3 separate regions of the Homo sapiens genome follow, and regions 2 and 3 are each linked to region 1. The links are contacts of gene promoters, found by promoter capture Hi-C in human tissues and cell types (Jung and others, 2019). All regions are on one chromosome and are shown on one strand. Each heading gives the region's core, a stretch centred on a gene start or on the middle of the fragment in contact. The rest is flanking DNA. Distances are from core to core; before and after follow the strand shown. Region 1 has its middle 11 kb from the start of FBXW5. Region 2 holds the start of LRRC26 (leucine rich repeat containing 26). Region 3 holds the start of ANAPC2 (anaphase promoting complex subunit 2).

Region 1 (2,700 bases), core at 64-2,563:
AGGCGGAGCTTGCAGTGAGCCGAGATCGCGCCACTGCACTCCAGCCTGGGCGACAGAGCAAGACTCCATCTCAAAAAAAAAAAAAAAAAAAAAGACAGGTTCTCACTCTGTTGCCCAGCCTTGAGTCACCAGTACAGTCATGACTTACTGCAGCTTCGACCTTCAGGCTCAAGTGATCCTCCCACCTCAGCCTCTCAAGTAGCTGGGACCACAGGCATGCACCACCACACCCAGCTAATTTTTATATTTTTTGTAGAGATGGGGTTTTGCCATGTTGTCCAGGCTGGTTTTGAACTCCTAGGCTGAAGTGATCCGCCTGCCTCGGCTTCCGTAAGTGCTGGGATTACGGCGTGAGCCACCATACTGGGCTGCAGCCTCTTTTTAAGGGCACGAATCCCATCCACAAGTGTTGCACCCTCATGATCTAAAAAGTCCTGCCTCCAAGTACCATCACATTGGAGATTATGTTTCAACACAGGAAATTGGGTGGGGGGGGCACAAACATTGTCTTCTCTTAGTCTGTTTTTGCTGCTATAACCGAATACCTGAGACCAGATAATTTATAAGGAATAGAAATTTATTGGCTCACAGTTCTGGGGGCTGGGAAGTCCCAGAGTAAGGTGCCAGCGTCTGGTGCAATCCTTCTTGTTGTGTCACTGTGGAAGGTGGAAGGGCAAGAGAGGGCCAAGCTCATCTTATTATACCAGCACCAATTCCAGCCTATCTTCCCTCTGACCTAATCACCCTTTAAGGATCCCACCTCTTAACACTGTTACAATGACAATTAAATATTAACATGAGTTTGGGAGATAAAAACATTCAAACCGTAGCATTCCATCCCTGCCCCTACACCAATTCATGTTCTTTTCACATACAAAATATACTCATTCCATCCCAATGGCCCCATTCAAAAGTCCAAAGCCCAGAGTCTCGTCTAAATCAAACATGGGTGAGACTCAAGGCATGATTCATCCTGAGGCAACTTTCCCTCCACTATGAGCCTGTGAAATTAAACAAGTTACGTGCTTCCAAAATACAATGGTAGGGCAGGCATAGAACAGACATTTCCATTCCAAAGGGATAAATTATAAAGAGGAAAGGAATAACAGGCCTCAAAAGCATGTCCAAAGTCCAACAGGGAGAATACTACTAAATCCTAAGGCTTGAGAATCATCATCTTTGACTCCAAATCCTGCCTTCTGCACGCCGTGGGGTGCGGCTGGGTCCTCAGGCTCTTGGGAACCTCACCCCTAGAGCTTTGCTGGGCTCAGACCTCACACAACTCTCTTAGGTTGGAGTCTCGTGCCTTCAGCTCTCCCAGGCTGGCAATGAACACTAGAGGCTCTCCAGTTCTGGGGTCTCAGGGGTGGCCTTATCCCCAAGGCTCTACCACATATTGCCCTAGTGTGGGCTCTCTGCCATGGCTCTGGCCTGGAGACTTGTGACATCCTGTGTGACACCCAGTGGATGAAGCCATGTCCCCACAGCTCCTGCAAGGCTGCAGAATCGACACCACCAAGGCTTATGACTTGTACCTTCCCTGGGTCCACATGAGACAGGCTGGAGTGGCTTAGGGGGTCTGCACTGGAATGCAGACAGCCAAGACTTGGGGTGGCCCTGGCCAGCAGGCTCTAAGGTCCACACCCTACACCTCTCTTTTGACATATTTCCTTCCCAAAGGCCTTGGCACTCTGGGCCTGTGGTGGGAGGGGCAGCACCAGGAATCTGAAATGCCTCTGGGGCCATTTTCCCACTGTCCTGATGAGCAGCCTCTGGCTTCGTTCTGTCCATACTAAGTTGCTTGGCCACACACTTGGTCTGTTCTCCTAAAGACATCTTATTTACTCCCTAAATGGGCAGGCTGAAAATCCTTACGATCCCTATTCTTTCCTTGTTAATTATAAATTCCATCTTTAATTCATTTCTCTTCTCACATCTTACTCTCTGCAGTTAGAAGAAAACATGCCACACCCTGAGTATTTCTTCAGCCAGATATCCCAGTTCCTTCCACAAAGGAAGGACTGGGCATGGACACCGTTCAGCCACGTTCTCTGCCACTTTATAACTAGGATGGTCATTCCTCCAGTTTCTGACACCTTGTTCTTCATTTCTGTCTGAGATCTTACCAGAATGGCCTTCACTGTCCAGATTTCTACCAACATTCTGACCATGACCACTTTAAGTATTCTCAAAGAAGCTTCAGACTTTCCCTACAGTTCTCTTCTGAGCCCTCAACAAAATCACCCTTTACACTCCATGAATGGCATCTAAGCTTCTTCTCGCTCCTCCAAACTCTTCTGGCCTCTGCCTACTACCCAGTTCCAAAGCTGCTTCCACATTTTTCGAGCATTTGTGATGACAACAAACCCACTCCTGGTCTCGATTTTCTGCCCACAGCACCCTGATACCAAAAACCAGACAAAGACAATACAAAAGACAATTATAGACAAATGTCCTTCATGAACAGAGATGCAAAATCCTCAAAAAAAATTTAAATCAAATCCAGCAATATATAAAAGTGATAGTGCACCATAACCAGGTAGGGTTTATTCCAGGAATGCAAGGTTGGTCCAATATTTGAAGATCAACATAAGTCACCATATTAACTGTACAGGAGAAAAACCACATGAACATATCACTTGGTATAGAAAAAGCATCTTTTTTTTTTTTTTTTTGGAAGACAGTTTCCTTGTTGCCCAG
Region 2 (2,700 bases), core at 99-2,598, 240 kb before region 1:
GCCCTCGAGGGAGGCACGCTGTCTCAGGGGAGGCCCTTGGCGGGGGGAGCTATCCCAGGGGAGTCCCTGGAGGAGGAGGGGTGCTGTCCCTGGAGGAGGAGGGGTGCTGTCCCTGGAAGAGGAGGTGTGCTGTCCCAAGGGAGGCCCTTTGTGGGGGTGCACTGTCCCAGACGCCAGCCTGTCCTGGGGGAACAAGGACTCTACCAGCTCGTGATGACCCGGCCCGTCATGCAGGTTGGTGGAGAATTTTGGGGTCCAGGAAGATCTCATGGACCTGCACCCGGTTTACGTGGAGTCCCAGCTAATGGACGCTGACCTGGAGGTCTCCCTGGTGCCACCACTAGAGGATCAGAGCCTTGTGGCCATCCCCATGGAGGCTTCTTCAGAGGAGCCGCCACCACCCCCGCCCCTACCACCTGAGTAGAGGGCTGAGGGCAGCTGGGGGAGGGGAATTAAAGCGTATTTAGTGGCTGTGCACTGTCCTCCCTGCAGGCCCTCCTGAGGGCAGCTGGGGGAGGGGAATTAAAGCTTGTTTAGTGGTTGTGCACCGTCCTCCCTGCAGGCCCTCACACCCCTCACGGCTGCATCATGGGGGGTGCACGCGCATATGGGTCTCATCAAAGCAGAGTGCCCAGGCCCCACAGCAAGTTCCCCTGTTCCTCTGCCCCCTGGCAGTAAGCCATACCCCTAATGTTTCCACCTTCTCTGCCACAGCTGGTCAGCCCGGCTCCTTCCTGCACCCAGCTTTGGAAAGCCCCTAGAACAGGACCTGCAACTGGCAACTGTGAAGGGCGCTGGGTTTAACAGCAGGACTTGGGCTGATACCCCTGCCCCACTGCACTGGTCTGTACCTCTATCCCAGGAGAGTCCTGGGGGGGAGGGGTGGGGCAGGCACGCCTCTCCTGCCTCGGGTGTGCTGTCTCCCTCCACCCCAAGGCCTGTCTCCAACCCAGGCCCTATCCAGCATGGGAATGGGACCATCCCTGCGTGGGGGCCACTCCGCATGTGCACGTTGGGATCACTTTGCGGAGCCTGGGTGGGGTCGAGACGGGTGAGGAGCAGGACCTCTGGGTTGCATTGCGTGTGGGCGCCTGTTGCAGCCGTGAGCTGGGCGGGTGCAGGTGGGCGGTGTCCTGCTGCTCAGGTCAGGGCTCGGCGGGCGCCCGGTGGTGGACAAGGCGGGGTGAGGTGGTCTTGATAGCGCTGTGGCCGGCGCTGAGCCAAGAGTAGTTTGGAGCTCCCGGACAGGTGGCTGGCGGTGCCGGGCGTTGGCTGTTTGCCCTGCCCCCGCCCCAAGCGTGGATCCAGCCGTGGGACAGGAACTGCCTGAGCTCGGGCCAGAGAGTTAATATTTGTGCAGGCGCCGCAGGAACGGGCTCCGCGGACGACGGGCTCCAGGGACGCACAGGCAGCGGGCCTCCCACCGCGGGTGCCGGGGGCGGGGGGGCTGCCCCCATGCGGGGCCCTTCCTGGTCGCGGCCTCGGCCGCTGCTGCTGCTGTTGCTGCTGCTGTCGCCTTGGCCTGTCTGGGCCCAGGTGTCGGCCACGGCCTCGCCCTCGGGGTCCCTGGGCGCCCCGGACTGCCCCGAGGTGTGCACGTGCGTGCCGGGAGGCCTGGCCAGCTGCTCGGCACTCTCGCTGCCCGCCGTGCCCCCGGGCCTGAGCCTGCGCCTGCGCGCGCTGCTGCTGGACCACAACCGCGTCCGTGCGCTGCCGCCAGGTGCCTTCGCGGGAGCGGGCGCGCTACAGCGCCTGGACCTGCGCGAGAACGGGCTGCACTCGGTGCATGTGCGAGCCTTCTGGGGCCTGGGCGCGCTGCAGCTGCTGGACCTGAGCGCCAACCAGCTGGAAGCACTGGCACCAGGGACTTTCGCGCCGCTGCGCGCGCTGCGCAACCTCTCATTGGCCGGCAACCGGCTGGCGCGCCTGGAGCCCGCGGCGCTAGGCGCGCTCCCGCTGCTGCGCTCACTCAGCCTGCAGGACAACGAGCTGGCGGCACTCGCGCCGGGGCTGCTGGGCCGCCTGCCCGCTCTAGACGCGCTGCACCTGCGCGGCAACCCTTGGGGCTGCGGGTGCGCGCTGCGCCCGCTCTGCGCCTGGCTGCGCCGGCACCCGCTGCCCGCGTCAGGTGAGCTGCTGGGGACGCGGGTCGGGGTCTGCAGGGCGGTGCGGCAGCCGCCACCTGACGCCGCGCCTTTGTCTGTGTCCCACAGAGGCCGAGACGGTGCTCTGCGTGTGGCCGGGACGCCTGACGCTCAGCCCCCTGACTGCCTTTTCCGACGCCGCCTTTAGCCATTGCGCGCAGCCGCTCGCCCTGCGGGACCTGGCCGTGGTTTACACGCTCGGGCCGGCCTCCTTCCTCGTCAGCCTGGCTTCCTGCCTGGCGCTGGGCTCTGGGCTCACCGCCTGCCGTGCGCGCCGCCGCCGCCTCCGCACCGCCGCCCTCCGCCCGCCGAGACCGCCAGACCCGAACCCCGATCCCGACCCCCACGGCTGTGCCTCGCCCGCGGACCCGGGGAGCCCCGCCGCTGCCGCCCAAGCCTGAGCGGCCGCGGCCGCCTGGAGCGCTCGAAGCTTCCCCCATGCCTTTGCCCTCCCTTTACACTGTCTGCCGGCGTCAACAAGCGACACAGACCGAAAACTGCGTGACATTCCTTTAGGCATCACCACTGCATACACCGGGAGGTGGGGGTTGGGCGG
Region 3 (2,700 bases), core at 175-2,674, 250 kb before region 1:
TGCTCTGAGCACACACTTGCTGGGGCTGAGCTGAGGGGCACACGGAGGCAGGCCCTGCCCGTGGTCTGGTCAGCTGTCCCTGCCGCCGCTACTTTTCTGGTCTGGGGCTGTAGCCTTGGTCAGGTTCCCAGCTTCCCTCTTGAGAACGCTGAGCAAAGTCTGGGAGCTCTCCAGGATCTGGGGCCAGAGAAGTGAGAAGGTTGTTAATGTTCACCTGTTGGTAAGGTCCTAAGCCCCAGCTGTCCTCACACTCAGGTGCTGGGACCTGGCTGGGGGTGCTGTAGCCAAGGGATCCTGTGTGGGGGAAGGCGGAAGCCCAAGGGGACTGGCAGACGGGGTGGCAGGGCCCTCTTCCCTCCGGAATCTGACCCAAAACACTTCCTCTCCACCCTCAAAGCCAGGCTGGGTTAGCACTGGCCCGTGCTGGGTGCTCTGCCCAAGACCTGGCTCTTCACACTGAGCAGAAATAACCACATGGCTAGCGAGAACCGGATAAAGACCAGGACCCAGGATGCCCCAGGCCCCACAGACAGCCCCACAGTCACTCCCACAGCAGCCTGGGTTCCTCAATGGGCCTGGCCACGCTGCCCCTGCCCGAAATGCCAGCGAGGCACAGACTGCCCACAGCCGGGAGCCCCAGCCGGTCCTGACGCCTTGCCGTGGCAACACCCCTGCCGTGCCTATCCCCTGATGCTCGGCCTGGCCTCCCGAGCTCCACCTTGAGGTAGGCGGCCTCCGTCTCCGCGATGGTCCGGTCGAACTCGTTGCGAGAGGCAATCTTGCGTGCCAGGTTCTCGTTGACGCGGGCCAGCTTCTCTGTCAGCTGCCTCACCTCATTCTGCAGCCGCTGCTTCTCGTCCTCCTCCTCCTGGATCTGCCGGCACAGCTCCTCCCGCTTCTGGCACAGCTCCTCTATGCCTGGGGGCCGGGAGGGGCGGCGCTGTGGGCCCAGGGCAGGAGCGCGGCGGCGGAGGGCGGGCCTCCTTCCACCCGAGGAAGCCAGAGTCAGGCACCACCCCCGAGCGCCCGGCGCGGGGCCTGCGAGCCAGCGAGGGCTCGGGCCACGGACACCCGGCCTCCGGCACGGAGGGCTCTGCTCAGCCGCGCGATGCCCGCAGCGAGGCGGGTCCAGGGGCACCCCGCTGCGAGCCGGGAACCCGGCCCTGCGGCCCTCCCGACCTCCCCGTCCCGGCTGCGCCGCTCACACTTGACCAGCTCGTTGTTGTAGTTCTGCAGCGCCGCGCCCTGCTGGGTCATGGTCAACGCCGCCCGGGGCCCCACCACCCCAACCGCCGCGGAAGCAGCGCTGTCCGCGCCTGCGCACGACTCCCCCACGGCGCGCCGAACTAGCGCGTCATCGCTGAGCGCCTTGTGCGCGTCATGGCTGCGCGTGCAGACGTGCGTCATCGCCGCGCGCCGCGCCGAGCGAATCTCGGAGTCGGTGGGTGCAGATGGCGGCGGCAGTTGTGGTGGCGGAGGGGGACAGCGACTCCCGGCCCGGACAGGAGTTGTTAGTGGCCTGGAACACCGTGAGCACCGGCCTGGTGCCGCCGGCTGCGCTGGGGCTGGTGAGGCCTGGGAAGAGAGGGGCGGCCCCGCGCGGAGTTTCCGGGACCGTACGCGCTTTGGGGCCGCTACCCTCGGGTTCATACGGCTCTGTCCATCATCCGCCTCTGTCCTGTCCTGCCATTTTCCACCACCTTTCCGTTTCGTTTCGTTCAGCTCCGCTGACAGCCCTTCCATAGCTTCGGCCCAACGTCCGGGCAGCACGGACAGGGGGCAGCGGAGTTTTTGCAGCCTCCCCCTCAGCTTCTTCCCTTCCCCGCCTCTCCCCACCTCTATGTTGTGTTCCCCTCGCCTCACGGTTTTCTGCACCCCAGGTGTCTTCCCGGACCAGCGGTGCAGTCCCGCCAAAGGAAGAGGAGCTCCGGGCGGCGGTGGAGGTTCTGAGGGGCCACGGGCTACACTCGGTCCTGGAGGAGTGGTTCGTGGAGGTGCTGCAGAACGATCTGCAGGCCAACATCTCCCCTGAGTTCTGGAATGCCATCTCCCAATGCGAGAACTCTGCGGATGAGCCCCAGTGCCTTTTGCTACTCCTTGACGCTTTTGGCCTGCTGGAGAGCCGCCTGGATCCCTACCTGCGTAGCCTAGAGCTGCTGGAGAAATGGACTCGCCTGGGCTTGCTGATGGGCACTGGTGCTCAGGGGCTGCGAGAAGAAGTCCACACTATGTTGCGCGGAGTCTTGTTCTTTAGCACCCCCAGAACCTTCCAAGAGATGATCCAGCGTCTGTATGGGTGCTTCTTGAGAGTCTATATGCAGAGTAAGAGGAAGGGGGAAGGGGGCACAGACCCGGAACTGGAAGGGGAGCTGGACAGCCGGTATGCCCGTCGCCGGTACTACCGGCTCCTGCAGAGCCCGCTGTGTGCAGGGTGCAGCAGTGACAAGCAACAGTGCTGGTGTCGCCAGGCTCTGGAGCAGTTCCATCAGCTCAGCCAGGTCTTGTGAGTAGTCTGTCCCGATGGCCATGCCCTTGCTCCTTCTGGTTCCCCGCTGCTCCCCTGGGTCCAGCTGGCCTCAGCAGAAAGCTGGTGAGCCGTCCTGATAACCAGGAACATGACAGAGAGAGAGTCCCAGGGATTCCTGTGCAGCGTGTCCTGGACACAGGTGTCTCTCTTCTGTCACTCACCTTCAGTCCCAC

The links. The method cuts DNA at HindIII sites, captures the fragments that hold promoters and counts their contacts. A contact is called where the count stands out against the background at its distance.
Region 2: the fragment with the promoter of LRRC26 here is called in contact with a fragment that was not itself captured in region 1 in 3 of the 25 tissues and cell types used here (H1 embryonic stem cells, dorsolateral prefrontal cortex and mesenchymal stem cells).
Region 3: the fragment with the promoter of ANAPC2 here is called in contact with a fragment that was not itself captured in region 1 in 12 of the 25 tissues and cell types used here (H1 embryonic stem cells, IMR-90 fibroblasts, dorsolateral prefrontal cortex and 9 more).

The regions. Positions count from the first base shown.
Region 1 is chr9:136,932,683-136,935,382 of GRCh38, reverse strand. No RefSeq gene overlaps it. Among named protein-coding and RNA genes, the nearest start is that of FBXW5, 11 kb to the left of the region's middle. The HindIII fragment of the contact is 7,838 bases long and covers 1-2,700 here.
Region 2 is chr9:137,168,699-137,171,398 of GRCh38, reverse strand. It overlaps LRRC26 (leucine rich repeat containing 26), which reads left to right and starts at 1,348. Exons shown (of 2, transcript NM_001013653.3): 1 at 1,348-2,128; 2 at 2,214-2,641. The coding sequence starts at 1,456. The coding sequence ends at 2,545. It overlaps TMEM210 (transmembrane protein 210), which reads left to right. Exons shown (of 4, transcript NM_001282477.2): 4 at 235-541. The coding sequence ends at 424. It overlaps MIR3621 (microRNA 3621), which reads left to right and starts at 2,129; the gene lies at 2,129-2,213. GRIN1 (glutamate ionotropic receptor NMDA type subunit 1) reads right to left here. Exons shown (of 20, transcript NM_007327.4): 20 at 2,643-2,700. RefSeq lists silencers at 1,636-1,695, 1,856-2,375, 2,616-2,700. The HindIII fragment of the contact is 5,034 bases long and covers 1-1,551 here.
Region 3 is chr9:137,187,284-137,189,983 of GRCh38, reverse strand. ANAPC2 (anaphase promoting complex subunit 2) reads left to right here and starts at 1,424. Exons shown (of 13, transcript NM_013366.4): 1 at 1,424-1,568; 2 at 1,881-2,503. The coding sequence starts at 1,452. SSNA1 (SS nuclear autoantigen 1) reads right to left here and starts at 1,308. Exons shown (of 3, transcript NM_003731.3): 1 at 1,206-1,308; 2 at 719-918; 3 at 1-177. The coding sequence starts at 1,257. The coding sequence ends at 70. RefSeq lists a silencer at 917-1,266 and an enhancer at 1,297-1,516. The HindIII fragment of the contact is 18,290 bases long and covers 1-2,700 here.